Linked DNA regions of Homo sapiens: region 2 is linked to region 1. Evidence: promoter capture Hi-C in 16 types of primary human blood cells and fetal thymus (Javierre and others, 2016). All regions are on one chromosome and are shown on one strand. Each heading gives the region's core, a stretch centred on a gene start or on the middle of the fragment in contact. The rest is flanking DNA. Distances are from core to core; before and after follow the strand shown. Region 1 has its middle 6.0 kb from the start of ZNF69. Region 2 holds the start of FBXW9 (F-box and WD repeat domain containing 9).

Region 1 (7,685 bases), core at 2,473-4,972:
TATGCTCTCACTGGGGGCAGTGTTGTTTGGAATGAAGGTACAACACTGGGTTTTAATCATAACACAAACTCCACCTTTTTTGGCTAATAACATGTCTGGAGCCATTCTGGTTTTTATTTTTTGAGATGGAGTCTCACTTCGTGGCCCAGGCTGGAGTGCAGTGGCACCATATTGTCTCACTGCAAGCTCTGCCTCCCGGGTTCACGCCATTCTCCTGCCTCAGCCTCCCCAGTAGCTGGGACTACAGGTGCCCGCCACTACGCCCGGATACTTTTTTTGTATTTTTTAGTAGAGACGGGGGTTTCACCATGTTAGCCAGGATGGTCTCGATCTCCTGACCTTGTGATCCGCCCACCTTGGCCTCCCAAAGTGCTGGGATTACAGGCATGAGCCACCGCGCCCAGTCAAGTGATTCTGTTTTCTTAAGCTATTTGGCTAGTAGGCCTTAACTGGTCAGCTGTTTTTTGATAAGATCCTTGGTGTAATTCATAAACTGCTGCTAATTATAATAGATGTAATTTATCGAAGCTACATTTTTATTAATAGTTATTCGGGGAAATATGGGTTTAAATCTTGCAGTTATTTGGTCTCAGGTTTTGAACTTGTTAGGCACTCCCCATGGGACTCTAATGGCCTTTATGTAAACTTGAGAGTCAAAAGACTTATAAGGGGCTTCTCTTATTTTTTGGTGTTGTGGCTTTTCTTTTTTTTTGGTTGATGAAATGCCAGTGTGAAAGGGATCGCCAATTGGACAAGAGCGCAAGTGCCGCTCCAGTTACTTGGCAGAGTATCCAGTAAAGGTCCACTACAATACCACCATACATCTGCTTGAGGATGACTAAGGGCAGACTGATGGGTAAGTTTTTGGAAGGGCTTAAGCTTATTGCATCTTGTTAAGCTTCTAAGGAACGCCAGATTCTCCCCTCGTCGTGAGAGACATGAGGTGAAATTGACGTCAGGAGAAGGAAGCTGAATGGCCTTTGGGGGCTGGCCTGCAGGTTGTTGGACTTCGGGATATAGCAGAGAGAGAGCTTGGCATGATTTGTTGCCCCAGGCTGTGGAATTTTGGAAAAGAGCTACCATACAGCCTATGCCTGGTCGGCTGAAGGGCTATCCTAGTGGAAAGGAAACAGTCTGGGCCTCTAGTCTGCCATGCATACAAGCGTAACAATTGCTTTTGTTCAATGTGCGGACGGAATATTGAATCCATTCCAACCAGGTATTTACATCTTGATATCCTGTTTTAATTGCTAGGGTTTGTCTTAAATCTTTTACTTCTACAATATTTACTTTAGTAGTATCATTAGGTAGAAAACAGGTGGCAGTCTGATTAGAAGAAAGCTTAGAAGGAGAAGAGAAGGAAGGGGGTGAAGAGAATGAAGGATTAATAAAACGCATTTCGAAAGATCTTATGAGGTCTGTGCTGGCCAAGTTGGCTCCTGTTCCATAGAAGTGACTTAAAGTAGGTTTAGGGTCAGTAGAGGTGGAAATTTGTATGGGATTACATTGATTATACTGGCAATTGGGGAGGTGCTTTTTTTAGTGAAATGAATGTATGGTTTTAAGGATATACAGCCACCTGCTGATGAGGTCTAGCCTTGACATTTGGTTGTCCATAGGACATCATTCTAGCTATGACAGACTTGTTTTCTTATATTTGTTAAGGAACAAGAGTCTTGGTAGGGGGGGCCTTTCACCTTAAAGGGGCAGAGATACTTTTCTGAGGCTGAGACTTGTCTTTGACTTTGGAGATCTTTACAGGGTATGACTAGACATAGCATTAAACGTGATAACTTGGGGTGAGTTTGATTGAGTTACATTAATGACAAGGTGGTCAGCATTGGAAGGGGAAAAGAAGAAAGAGTAATAGAATAGATGTAAGAGGTTAAATTTTTCTTAGCTTTAGTTTGAGGGGGTTTTCCCCTGGAATAATGGCCTACGACTTTGGGGGTGGCGGTGCTTTCTTGACTCGGGTGTGATGGGTCTATCCTTTCTCTGCTGTCCAGACTGCAGTTTCAATGGTGGGAAGTACTAGGCCAGCTCCTCAGGCCGGTGTTGACGCACTGGGAACTCCAGGAGCCGCACCTGTACTGGAAAATTGTGAGTTTTGAGGGAAGAGAAAGTGGAAGATAAACCAAGTATGTAGGAATGTTGGCAGTGGATTGCTTTGAGAGGTAGTTTGGATTAATAGGAAGACAGAAGACATTTGAGTTATGGCAACTAAGTTTCTAGACTTGTTTGGCTAAGGATGTACATTTTCATACACATATAAACTTTAACTGTGCTATACATAGCTTGAGGTCTTTAATGGGTCCTCTAATTTAGGTGGGATAGGACTTCTTTCATAAGAGGTTTAAATAACATTTGAATTCCCTTCAGTGCCTACAGGAGAAACGGCAGCTGGTTCGGATTATCTGATTTGCTAGGTTATTTTCTTAACTCTTGAAAGATAGGATTTTTGGTGCCTGGGGACGTGGAAAATAGCTTTTTTTTTTTTTCTGGTAACTGAAGGTTATTTAACACTTGGGTTATTAACTCTTCATGAACAAGGCTTTGACCTTTATTATTGTCTGAAATTTTCTAAATGTATGAGCCACGATAAAGGTGTATTTAGAATCAATATAGATTAGTATAGATGGTTCCTTTGCAGTTACTTTAAAGCTTGACTAAGTGCAAACAGCTTACAAATTTGGGTAAACTATTAAACAATTTTTAAATTTTATTTCTCTAGGAACTTCTCTATTTATTATTGAACATCTGTTGAATCCTTTTTCCTTTAATCATTTTTGAAGGGGGTTTCTCTTAAGTTTGGCCGGACATTTGTATGGTAATCAGTTAAATCTAAACATGTGTGCTTCCTTTTTAGATTTGGATCTTTCGTTAAGAAACTTGTTAGGTTAAGCAAATTACTAGTAACATTAAACTATCATTTTTAACAGAATAGCCTCATATTTATACACATGTAATTCTTTTTTGGTGGTACATTTTAACATAGGTGACTTTAAAGAATCAGAGTTCTTTTCTGGTGGATATTTTCACTTTTAACACTGGCCTGACTATAATAAATGCTAGTGGATATATCCGCTGAAAGATTATCTACTTCTTGCTCAGGAAACTTAGCTGCGGGGATGCCAGGCTGCTTGGAGCCATCGCTGAAGCCCCGTATTACTTAGCCTCAGCAAAGTAAGGCAGATATCCTATAATGTAGTTTGCATGGGGCATAGGCTGGGGCCTGGCTCGCATGTCATGCAGAGCTGCCGTCAATACAGTGCCAGGACCTTGGACCAGCCAGTGGGCAGGAGCATGGGCTTTGCCGCTGCAGGGGTGCACTATGGGCCAGACAACGCTGACAACATGTTGCGGCAGATCCTTCATGTTGCTAGCCTGGCAAAAGCCATCTGGTGAATTAGGAGCTTGGAGTTCTTTAGGGGAGAGGGACTTAGGCTGGGGAAGAACAGACTTACTGGGCGATGCCTGAGGGGAAGGGTTGGGTATTAGGTGGGGAATGGTCTAGGGGATCTTGCGAGTTGTTCTTTTTGCTAGGATCCCCCAAGCCCCTTCCTTCACTGTCTTTTTCATTAAAGATGGTTCTATCTTAATAGGGCACATGTACAACTCATTTTCCTCCAAATATTAGTTTTTGACTTGCTCCTTTCAATCCTTGGAGGAGGGGAAAGGACAACTCCTTGCAACTAACATAGGGCATAATTTGTTTCTTCTCAGGAGGCAGGTCTTCTACTAGCAACATTTTCTATTAGAAGTTCACAAATCCATCCCTCATTCGACTTAAATTCTGGCCAGAAAACTAAGGGTTCAAGGATTCGTTCTTGAGTCTAAATGGAACAGCAATATTTTATCACTAATTGCTTTTTCTTATGTTTAGTCTTTTCATTATCTTTCTAATGTTTTAACATGAGACCTAGGGGACTATTAGGGGGGATATCTTTGTTGCTAACTTTGTCTTTTTTGCTTGTAATATTTCCTATACTGGGTCCTGGCTAGGCTCAATCCCTCGTGATAGGAATCTCTTGCCTAGGGGGGCTTGCTGTGGCTCAACCCCTCATATTAAGGATCTCTTGCCTATTTTGGGGGTTCCTTGTGGCTCAGCCTCTCAAATTAAGGATCTCTTGCCTATTTGGGGGGTTCCTTGTGGCTCAACCCCTCATATTAGGAGGTCTTTTGCCTATCCCTCACTGGAAGTGTGGCTAAGGCTCAATTCCACTATCCTTTAGCTCCACCTGCTGGAGGTTCCTTGCACCCTTCTTTCGCTTCATCCACTCTGGCCGCTTCCCTCGCAGGTTTGTTTCAGGTTCCTCTTAGCATTGATGGCAGGTCCGTATAAACCTGTGACAGGACCCCCGCAGGGCTGCCCTAAGCCGTGTGAGGTGACCACAGAACCGCAGATTGGACTCACTCGCTCCGCACAGCAGTAGTGCTTGTTACCATTCATGCACTTTCAACCCCCAGAATGCCCTGACACACCCCTCCGACTACCAAAGAATTACTTTGTTGCCCCTGCAACGTTTCCCACCTTGGTCTGTGCACAGAGTTTACCTGGTCGCTGCGGTATTGCAAGCCTCTCTTCCCCGCGTTGCTGAGAGTCCGGGTTTATTCGTCAAAATGGGTGGGTCTCGATCTCCTGTCCCTGAGGCCACCGCAATGGGGCAGTGGGACGCGTCTCCCCAGGGTAGGGTGACTGAAGAACTCTTCCAAAAGGAGCATGGGGATCTCGGACGATCCCCTAGAATTGTTGGATATAAAATGCTCCCGGAATAAAAGCTTGGTGCCGTGAAGTAAAACCAGCACTCAGGCAAAATTTTAATTCTCTCAGCAAGGCAATTTACTACTGCAGAAGGGTGCCACTCACGTCAATCAAGATCACAAGAGCACAGAGAACAAAGGAGACCAGGAGGTTTTTATCCTTAATGCGGTCCCTATCTCTGTGTTACTCCCCCATGGGCTGGGGTCGGACCGCACAGTCTGAGCTGACCCGATTGGCTGCTTGTACATATTTTTCTAAATATAGAAGGGGAGGGGGATGTGAGGTACAGAGGTGGAGCATGTGAGATGTGCAGTTTTGGGGGAACAATGGGTACAGGTAACCAAGGGAACAGATGTGAGTTATTGATTAGAGCTGATGGGAACGGGGTAGGCTGTTTTAAAGTAACTAGGGGCAAGGAGGAACAGGAAAGTTGAGTTTGAGAACAAAAGACGAGGAAGTTAGCAGGCTAAATCTTTAAAGAAAAACTTAAAGAAATTCACTGTATCTTACAAATCTGACCCCAGTGGCCCCATGCATGTCAAACCCCAAACCCTGCCCAGAAGACAGCCCCAGGCTCCAGAGGTACAACACCAGAAAGGACAGAACCCCCACACATACGTGTGCATGTGGGTCTTCTGCTTTCCAGGGCTCTTCAGCTTCTCGGAATCCGCACTCCTTCTGGAGCTGCTCTGAGCAATTGGAGGCCACCTGTAGGGGAGGGCGGGCTGCCCGGAAGCCCCCAGGAAAGGCTCCTTTCCCTTCCTTTGCAGGCTCCACACTGGCCTCAGCGTTGAGTCACCGGCCTCGGGCTCTGCTGCCCCCTGCAGGTTATTCAGCTACTTCTCACCCCATTGATCAGTTCCATGACACAAACACCCTCAATCCCATTGTGTGAATAAGACACCAGCAGAGTCCCTGCTCTCCTCCTATGTTTATGTATAAAGTGGGGAAGGAAAATTCTAAGATAACTTAAGTGCATTTAAAAGATTTCCAGATCGTGGTGGAGGTGGCAGCTGAGGGACGCACGTTCAGTGACACTGCAGTACCTCCGGGCCTGGCTGGTTGGAGAGAGGGTGGAGAGCTGGAGATGAATGTGGATATATGGAGGGAGCAGCCCTGGGAACCGGGCTCTGCAGCAGCGCGGCTCTAGGGCCTGGAGCCCGGGGGAGCAGAGATGATGGGGGCTCCTGGGACAGGACGCTTGGGGAGAAGAGAGTCAGGCGGTTTCCATGGGACAGGGGTGCTGTGGCAGCTGGTGTGGGCCTGTGGCTATCATAACTAAGCCCGATTGGGACGTGAAAACTTGGATTCCGTGGGAATTTATGAAGAGGAAGGCTCTGATGACAAAGAAGTCATCGATGAGGAGAGGGATTAGGGTCACTGGCAAGCTCGCCCCCTTATGGAAAGAAAAGTGAACGTTCAGCTACTGCGGCAAAATGGGGTCAAAGGATGAGACTCTCACTGTCAGGGAATAAATTGCTGCAGAACTCTTAGAGATTGCAAAGACCTTCAAACAACAGCCTGGGAGGCCGGGTGCCATGGCTCACGCCTGTAATCCCAACATTTTGGGAGGCCAAAGTGGGAGGATCGCTTGAAGCCCGAGATTGGAGACCACCCTGAGCCGTGAAGTGAGACCCTCCCATCTCCATAAAAAATTTTTAATTACCAAGGAGAAGTGTGTGTACCTACAGTCTCAGCTACTCAGGAGGCTGAGACAGGAGAGTCACTTGAACCCCAAAGTTTGAGGCTGCTGTGAGCTATAATTGGGTACTGCGCTTCAGCAAGACACTGTCTCAAAACAAACAAACAAAAAATTAAAATCCCACCAAACTCCCTGGGGAAACCCTGTACCCCTTTGATGGTCAAAGTGTAAAATACAGCAGGTGGTGACATTTCCTTATGGACTGGATCATTCTAGCCACGTAAGAGGCTTGGCCTACTGAAGATTTACCAAGCGGGATCACCTCCTTGCAGTCAGTGGAAAAAGCCCCCGGTGAAACCATCCCTTTAAACTTTATCAAATTCATCAGGGAGGATGGGAGGAGGAAAACTTAAACCAAGCTTGCGGCACCTTCAGCATTAATCATCAAGTCAGCTTGTTCTCTGACCTTCCTCATATTTGTTTCATACCTAGTGTCCTAGAATCCCATAGACCCTAAATGATAGTTCCCGTTAACTGCTCTATACATAACAATTTGAACATTAGATATTTTCCCTTATAAATATTCCTTTTTGAGTTCTGGGTGCATTGGTTCATAACTGTAATCTCAGCACTTTGGGAGGCTGAGGTGGGAGGATCACTTGAGCCTTGGAGTTCAAGAACAGCCTGGGCAATAGAGTGAGACTCCATCTGTACAAAAAATTTAAAAACAGCCGGGCATAGTGGCATGTGCCTTTACTCCCAGCTACTTGTGAGGCTGAGGCAGGAGGATCCCTTGAGCCCGAGTTTCTACAGTGAGCTATGATCCCACCACTGCACTCCAGCCTGGGAAACAGAGCCATACTATTTCTCTTAAGAAAAAAAATCCAGACATTTGTTGGTCTTTGGATTATTGGAGAGCATTTATCTGACACTTAGCCCAATGTTTTAGAAAGGGGCACTTTGGGACTGGGACACAGCTCTGAAGGAAGCTTTGGACAGGTTAATGTGTTAGTATGGCAGGCACAAGCCTCAGGCACACCTTTAGAGGGTAGAGCTGTGACTTGGGATGATATAGTTGCTGCTGAGGGTACAATTTGGGACTTACGGCAACCACAGTGTGGTAAATCAGTCCCTTTAGGATTGTGGTTGTAATTATGACATGGAGATGAAACCAGACACTCTTGAGTCAGTGCAGGCAGTATATAATGCTTTCCAGCAGGTGGAATCCTTAAGAAAGAGCCTTTGCATGACTGTGAGAATGGGAGTACCATGCCCAGCTAA
Region 2 (7,685 bases), core at 3,878-6,377, 810 kb before region 1:
GTGCAGGTTGGGGCAGCTGGGCTCTGAGGGCAGGCGCGGGCGCTGGGCTCGGGCGGCCCCTCACCTGGGATCCGTCACGTTTCAGGACTTTATTTTCTTCTGCGATGCTGTAGCCTCCTGGGTGAGCCCGAAGGATGACCTTCGGGACATGTTTTATAAGGTGAGGCTCTGTCTGGGCCCTGATCTAGTTCCGGGAGCAGGCAGGGGTGAGACCATCTGGTAACAATGGGGCCTGGGGATGGGGGAAGAGGCGCACTCCCCTTGTTCTGCCCCTGCCTACCCCTCACCACCACCCTCCCCACAGATTCTCCACGGCTTCAAAGACCAAGTTGGGGAAGATAACTGGCAGCAGTTCTCTGAGCAATTCCCGCCGCTGCTCAAGGAGAGGCTGGCGGCTTTCTATGGGGTCTAGGTGATCATGGAGACTGCCAGGTAAGGAGACTGCAGCTGGCAAGTCAGCACTGTCTTGGGGGCCGAAAGGTCCCAGGCCATGACCTTCCTCCTCCCCCTGCAGGTTTCTGTCTGCGTCGTCGTCGGAGGGATTACTGGGGAGTGCGCTGCATCCGGAAGTCGCTGTGCCCTGGTTGAGGGGGGTTAGGGAGGAGTGAGTGGGACTCAAATCCAGATGCCTTCCCCGTCCGTCCGTCCGTCCGTCCATCCGTCCACTTGCCCTCCTGGCAGGTGGGTGGGGCCACCATGCTCATCCTACAAACGGGGAGGTGGGGGGGACTTCTGGTGGGCAAGGGCCCCTGGGCTCTAATAGGGTCATCTCTGGCAGCCCACTTGGGCCAGCTACGTGGGAGGGAGGAATTACACAGCTGACCGAATCCGGCTTCGGATGAGGTGAGGGAGGAGCAGGTCAGGAGGGGGGCCCTCGTAGGGACGCGTACACTCACACGGACACACATGGCCACACGCATGTGCGGGTGCCATAACCGGCGAGGCTGGGCCAGCCGCTCCACCATTTCCCCGACTGCATGGAGACAGTAGAATTAGTGAACCCCTGAGTTAACCCGTAAGGCCTTCCGTGTAACCTGCATCTAGAGTTTAAGAAGCTTCTGCTGTTTTGCCGGAATTGGCGGTGACTGGGGAGGGCTGGGTGGGTGGGGGGCCTCAGGCGGGATCTCGGGGCGGGGGGAGGAGGATGGTGACCTTGGGAGTCGCCCTGTCAGCACGCACATGCTTGGGACCCACTCCACACACTCCCTGCCAGCTTTGTTGCAGCCTCAGCTGGTGGTGTCTCCGTCCTTATCCTAGCCTAGCTCGCAGGGTGAGAACCACTGGAGTGGCTGGGGCTGGCCAGAGGTCACCGTTTCTCCTTCCTGTGTGCTCCAGTGGCTTTTGAAGACACTGGGTTGGGACCTTTTTCCTGAAGAGAGCTGGGTGTAGCCAGAGCTACTGGCACCTACCCCGAGCATCTCTCTCTGTAAGCAGCTTCAGGGGCAGTCCGTTTCTCTGTGCTTCTGAAACCCCCTTCTCACGTTTCAGGCCCCAGTTTTAACTCAAGGCCTGGGGCAGGGGCGTTTAATTGATGATGACAGAGGACACAGGTTTTTGCCAGCAAAAAGGAAAACCAAGGCTTGGTGGAAGGGAAAGGTGGTGTGTCCCCTGTTCCCTATTCCATCTCCCTGGGACTTCCTGCTCATCATAGTACCCAGTGAGCCCAGAGATCCTACTAGACTGGGTCAGCAATTCTAGAGAACCTTCCGGAATAGTCTGGGAACATGGTCAAGGTGGAAGGGGCTCCCCTAGAGAGGGTGGGGGTGTAGTTACTTCCCAGTTGGCCAGAAAACTGGGCCTTGCAGACCCCCTTAGCATTTTTTCCCTTTTTTTCCTTCCCTGCTTTCTACTTCTTTGGGGAGCCCCTTGTGTTTTGGAGTCTGACTGGAGTCTCGCATCCTGGGGCCTGCTCCATCCATCCCTCCTGGGCGCCAGACCCTCCATCCAAGCCCTGTGTCTTTCCATAGTCAGGGTCAGGCCCTGCATCTATTCCAAGGGGCACTCAGTACACATTCCATAAATTAGCTGGGTGTCCCTGCACGCCCACCCCATGAAACTCGAGCAGGTCTCTGGAAGCCATTTGTTAAAAAAAAAAAAAAAAGTTTTAAAAATACCTTTTAATTTTCTGGTAATTCCAGTTCTTTGAAGCATCCTCTGCTGGGTCTTGGGGTGTGTGGATGGATTGGCTGTCTGATGGGATTGGTAACCCCTCGCTACTCAAGATGGGGGGATACAAACACCTTCAGGGAAGGGGAGCCTGGTTCTTCTCGTTTTCCTTTTTTTTTTTTTTTTTAAAAAAAAACTATTTAATTTTTTAATTTATTTTTGGTTGTTTTTTGCACAATGAAGTTTCAGCTTCTCAACCTTCTCCCCTACCCAGGGCTGTGGACCCAGACTGGCCTTGAGCCACAGTCCCTCTTTCCCTCCTCACCCTCTTCCCCCTGCGGGCTCCCGGGTCTGTCCATTTGTTACTGTGCTGTGCTGGGGATTGGCGCCGAGGTGGCGTGAGATTCCACTTGTGTAGAACTTTGTTGAGTAAAGATCAGTTTCTTGTGAACTCCTTAGTCTGTGGCTTCCTGTGTCCTTGGCTTTGGTAGTGAAGAAATGTCGGGGGCACCGGGGATACTTGAGAGTGGGAAGATAGACGAATGTGAAAGATGGAAGATTAAATTTGTAACATATATGAAATGTGCAGCTCATTCTCTGGGACTTCAGCTCACTAAGGGTGAGCCATTAGTGTCACAGCCCAGGTTCAAGATGCCCCTCTGCCGTACTCTAAACTGAGTGGTAAGGGGTGAGGCCTTGCCGCACTCTTATCATCAGCTGACCCTGGGTCAAGGTTTTCATAGAAGGTTCAGCCCAGCCCCAGGCCGAGGGTAATTTAATTAATATTAGTTACAATTACTCAGGCAAATGAGAAGTAGTTTCAGCTGTGGGGGGAAACCACAATCTTCAGAATAAAATCTTTCTTTTTTTTGAGACCGGGTCTTGCTCCGTCACCCAGGCTGGAGTGCAGTGGCGCAATCATGGCTCAGTGCAACCTCAACCTCCCTGGCTCAACCAGTCCTCCCACCTCAGCCACCCAAGTAGCTGGGACTACAGGTGCATGCCACCATGCTGGCTAATTTTTGTATTTTTTGTAGAGGGGGTTTTCGCTATGTTGCTGAGGCTGGTCTTGAACTCCTGGGCTCAAGCAATCCACCTACTTTAGCCTCCCAAAGTGCTGGGATTACAGGTGTGGGCCACCGCCCCCAGCCAAAATAAAATCTTACTGCAACCTTGGTGTGGCCCAAAGACCAACGTGGGAAAATTTAAAAATACTGACACACATCCAATATTCAACAAATAAGTCCTGCATTCTAGTGAGAGGATAGAGTATAAAAAGTGGAACTGTGCTAAGTCCTATAGAGAAAAACAGGAAGGCAGAGAGAATGGTGGGGGAAACGGTTGAAATCTTATGTAGGGTGACCTGCAAAGGCCACACTGAGAAGACGATGTTTGAACAGAGCCATGGAGAGAAGAGTGTCAAGTAGAGCAAACAGCAAGGACTGCGCAGATGACCTACGTGGATTGGTTAGCTGCCTGGCTCAAAAGAGGCTTGCAGTAAATACCTGCAGTTTTTTTGTTTGAGACGGAGTTTTGCTCTTGTTGCCCAAGCTGGAGTGCAATGATGCCATCTCGGCTCACTGCAACCTCCGCCTCCCAGGCTCAAGTGATTCTCCTGCCTCAGCCTCTGAGCAGCTGAGATTACAGGTGCCTGCCACCACACCCGGCCAATTCTTTGTATTTTTAGTAGGAAGGGGTTTCACCTTGTTGGCCAGGCTGGTCTTGAACTCCTGACCTCAAGTGATTAACCCACCTTGCCTCTCGAAGTGGTGGGATTACAGGCCTGAGCCACCGCACCCGGCCAACATGCTGTTTTAGTAAGTGTGATGTTAGGCCGGGCGCAGTGGCTCACGCCTGTCATCCCATCACTTCGGGAGGCTGAGGCGGGCGGATCACGAGGTCAGGAGTTTGAGACCAGCCTGGCCAACATAGTGCGACCCCGTCTCTACTGAAAAATACAAAAATTAGCCAGGAGTGGTGGCGCGTGCCTGTATTCCCAGCTACTCTAGAGGCTGAGGCAGGAGAATCGCTTGAACCCGGGAGGCGGAGGTTGCAGCCAGCCGAGATCGCGCCACTGCACACCAGCCTGGGTGACAGAGTGAGACTCCGTCTCAGAAAAAAGAAAAAGGTAGCTTTCCACCAGGCGCGATGGTTCACGCCTGTAATCCTGGTACTTTGGGAGACCAAGTTGGGGGCGGATGGCTTGAGCTCAGGAGTTCCAGACCAGCCTGGACAACGTAGTGAAACCCTGTCTTTACAAAAGAATACAAAAATTAGCCGGGTGTGGTGGTGCGCGCCTGTAGTCCCAGCTACCTGGGGGGCCGAGGTGGAGGATCACTTGAGTCCAGAAAGCGGAGGTTGCAATGAGCCAAGCACTCCGCTTGGAGGACTGAACTGCTGTCCTCCAAGGTTGGGTTGGGGAATGGGGTCTGGAGAGGTAGTTCTGAGGCCCCAGTTCCTTTCTCAAAAAAAAAAAAAAAAAAAAAAAAAGTCACTTAACTGATGCCTCTGCAGTGTAACTGCATATTTCTGGCTCTGGGAAAAGAGGCAAGAGTTCCAATCTCTACTCCTTGAACTCGGAAAGGGGCCTTTGGGTTTCTAAGCTCAGTGTCACATATAACAGATGCCTTCGTTAAAGCAGTGTTTATTTTATGTCTAATTTAAAGAGACAGGGTCTCACTATGTTGCGCAGGTTGGAGTACAGTGGCACAACCATGGCTCACTGCAGTCTCGAACTCCTGGACTCAAGGGATCCTACCCCTTCACCTTCCTGAGTATCTGGAACTACAGGCGCGCGCCACCCCGCCTGGCTTGAGTTTCGTTTTTAGCTAGAGTTGGCTGGCTCTCGGTATCGGCTAGTTTAAAAAGCGCAGAAACAGGAACCTGCATTTTCCAGCCTAAGGCCGACGCAGTTGCAAGAGACCCTGTAAGCGGGGCGATGTTCTGTATTAAGCCAGTGTCTGACTTCGTCGCTTCCGGTGGGCGCATAAACGTCATCAGACAGCGCCGGAAGTGCCCTCGTGCTGCCTAGGAGACAAGACGCGAGGCCGGCAGCGCCCACCCGGTCGCAATGGAGCTTCCCCTAGGGCGGTGCGATGATTCCCGCACCTGGGACGATGACTCGGACCCAGAGTCAGAGACAGACCCAGACGCGCAGGCCAAGGCCTACGTGGCCCGCGTTCTCAGTCCGCCAAAATCCGGGCTGGCGTTCTCGCGCCCCTCGCAGCTATCCACACCCGCCGCGTCCCCGAGCGCTTCGGAGCCTCGGGCCGCGTCCAGGGTTTCGGCCGTAAGTGAGCCGGGCCTTCTGAGCCTTCCCCCGGAGCTGCTGCTCGAGATCTGCTCCTACCTGGACGCCCGCCTCGTGCTCCACGTCCTGTCGCGGGTGTGCCACGCGCTCCGCGACCTCGTGTCTGACCATGTCACCTGGAGGCTACGCGCGCTACGCCGCGTACGCGCGCCCTACCCAGTGGTGGAAGGTGCGCGGGGCCGGGGGCCGGGGACCGGGGGCCGGGGGCGCCCGCCCAGGTCAGGCTTGGGGCGGGGAAGAGGTACATGGGGTGTTCCGGATGCAGCCTCTGGTGCAGGCTTCGTGGCTGTCCTGGCTCAGGCTGGAGGCTAAGGTAGTTACTGGTGGTGCCGAAGCCCCTGAGGACCTCTGGGTGGACCACGAGGCAGTCAGGCACTTGGGGTCCTGAGGCTGTGAAACCCTAACATGGGGCTGTGGTTCCTGGACGACTCAGGATCCAAATATCCTCAGTCTTGGGGTCTTGTGGTACTAAGCCACTGACCCCTGATTGGGGATTGACACAGGGACTTGAAGTCTTAGGCTCTGGAGTTTATGCTGGGGCTCAAAGTGAGCCCAAGGATCCTCAGGTTCTGAGTCCAGCTTAGAAGCTGAGACAGCACCTGTTGATGTCAAAACTCCTGAGCCCTAGAGCCTTGACCCAGTTAGGGGTGAGACAGTGGCTCTTGGCCCTGAGTTGATTGGTTCCTGAGGGAAGACAGCTTGGGACCTTTGAATCGATATTGTTGATCCTGATACAGCTGGATCCTCAGGCCCTTAAGCCAAGATGTATTACAGCTTGGGTGTTTGATACCCTTAACCTGGAAGCTTTGATTCTGCTTAGAGAGGAATCAGGATCACTCCGGGATCAGTGATTCTCAAGGTGTTGCCATCCAACCCCCAGGTCAGACTCTCCCAAACAGCTTAATAAACATAGATGCTTGGACCCCGTCCATATCACAGAATCTGCATCTGGGGCTTGCATTCTGCATCTTGACAAGGCTCCCTGGTTTCCAGATACTGTTTGAGAAACAGCCCCCTTGGTCTGGTTCAGATGGCTGAGGCAGGAAGGGTTAGTCATGAGGTCCCAGCTTCTATGCTGAGCCTGAGGTCAGACCTCAACATCCTGAGACTGCTCTGCCCTGAGTTTGGGTTGGGGGATGGCGCCTGGAGAGGTAGTTCTGAGACCCCAGTTCCCAATTTCTGGAAATTGGAGTGAGTAGTCCTAGACCTGCCTGGGAAATGGGCAGGCAGGTGGTCCCAAGACCACAGCCTGGGTCGGCTTGGGGTGGGAGTAGGGATCTCCATGGGGTTCTGTCCAAGTCTGGTGTAGTGTGGGCTCCCTGGAAGCCAGGGTTGGGCTTGGCCAGCTGGCATGGGTGCTAGGGTCCCTGCCCACTGGGCACCCTACTCGTGGTAACCCACAGAGAAGAACTTTGACTGGCCGGCAGCCTGCATTGCGCTGGAGCAGCACCTGTCCCGCTGGGCAGAGGATGGGCGCTGGGTCGAATACTTCTGCCTGGCCGAAGGCCACGTGGCTTCCGTTGACTCAGTGCTGCTGCTCCAGGTGAGACGGGGTCTGTGGGGGGCCAGGCAGGGTGGGCCAGGGTGGCCCTGACAACATCACCTTGCTCCCTTTCCAGGGTGGGTCACTCTGTCTGTCGGGCTCCCGAGATCGCAACGTCAACTTGTGGGACCTGCGGCAGCTGGGGACGGAGTCCAACCAGGTTCTGATCAAGACCTTAGGCACTAAGCGAAATAGTACCCATGAGGTGAGGAGTCAGGTGGGGATAGGAGGTATGAGGCCTGAGTAGGGCATCTTGGTTAAGGCCCCAGGTTTTGGTACAGGACCGCATAGATTTGAATCTGACTTTTCTAACCTTGGTGTGACTTTGAGTGAGATGTGTGACTTCTCTGTGCCTCAGTTTCTACTTCTGTCCAGTGGGTGATTAGGATGAGGATGAAGGAGATGCATTATGCATTAATGTGGACATGCATTAAGCTCAGGCTTTTTTTTTTTTTTTTTTTGAGACGGAGTCTCGTTCTGTCACCCAGGCTGGAGTGTGGCATGATCTCAGCTCACTGCAACCTCTGCTTCCCGGGTTCAAGCGGTTCTCCTGCCTCAGCCTCCTGAGTAGCTGGGACTACAGGTGCATGCCACCACACCTGTCTAATTTTTTTTTTTTTTTTTTGAGATGGAGTCTCACTCTGTTGCTAGGCTGGAGTGTAGTGATGCAATCTCGGCTCACTGCAACCTCTGCCTCCCAGGTTTAAGCAATTCTCCTGCCTCAGC

What was found. Contacts are between HindIII fragments. The CHiCAGO score rates a contact against its expected background, and 5 or more counts as called.
Region 2: a contact is called between the fragment with the promoter of FBXW9 here and a fragment that was not itself captured in region 1, in 1 of 17 cell types (endothelial precursors). The highest score is 5.3, in endothelial precursors.

What each region holds. Positions count from the first base shown.
Region 1 is chr19:11,877,951-11,885,635 of GRCh38, reverse strand. No RefSeq gene overlaps it. Among named protein-coding and RNA genes, the nearest start is that of ZNF69, 6.0 kb to the left of the region's middle. RefSeq lists an enhancer at 4,136-4,315. The HindIII fragment of the contact is 2,118 bases long and covers 2,664-4,781 here.
Region 2 is chr19:12,694,073-12,701,757 of GRCh38, reverse strand. It overlaps FBXW9 (F-box and WD repeat domain containing 9), which reads left to right and starts at 5,127. Exons shown (of 10, transcript NM_032301.3): 1 at 5,127-5,585; 2 at 6,820-6,959; 3 at 7,036-7,164. The coding sequence starts at 5,177. TNPO2 (transportin 2) reads left to right here. Exons shown (of 26, transcript NM_001382241.1): 23 at 1-6; 24 at 86-160; 25 at 305-432; 26 at 515-2,557. The coding sequence ends at 412. RefSeq lists enhancers at 1-143, 1-620, 4,798-4,857, 5,168-5,217. The HindIII fragment of the contact is 5,165 bases long and covers 1,058-6,222 here.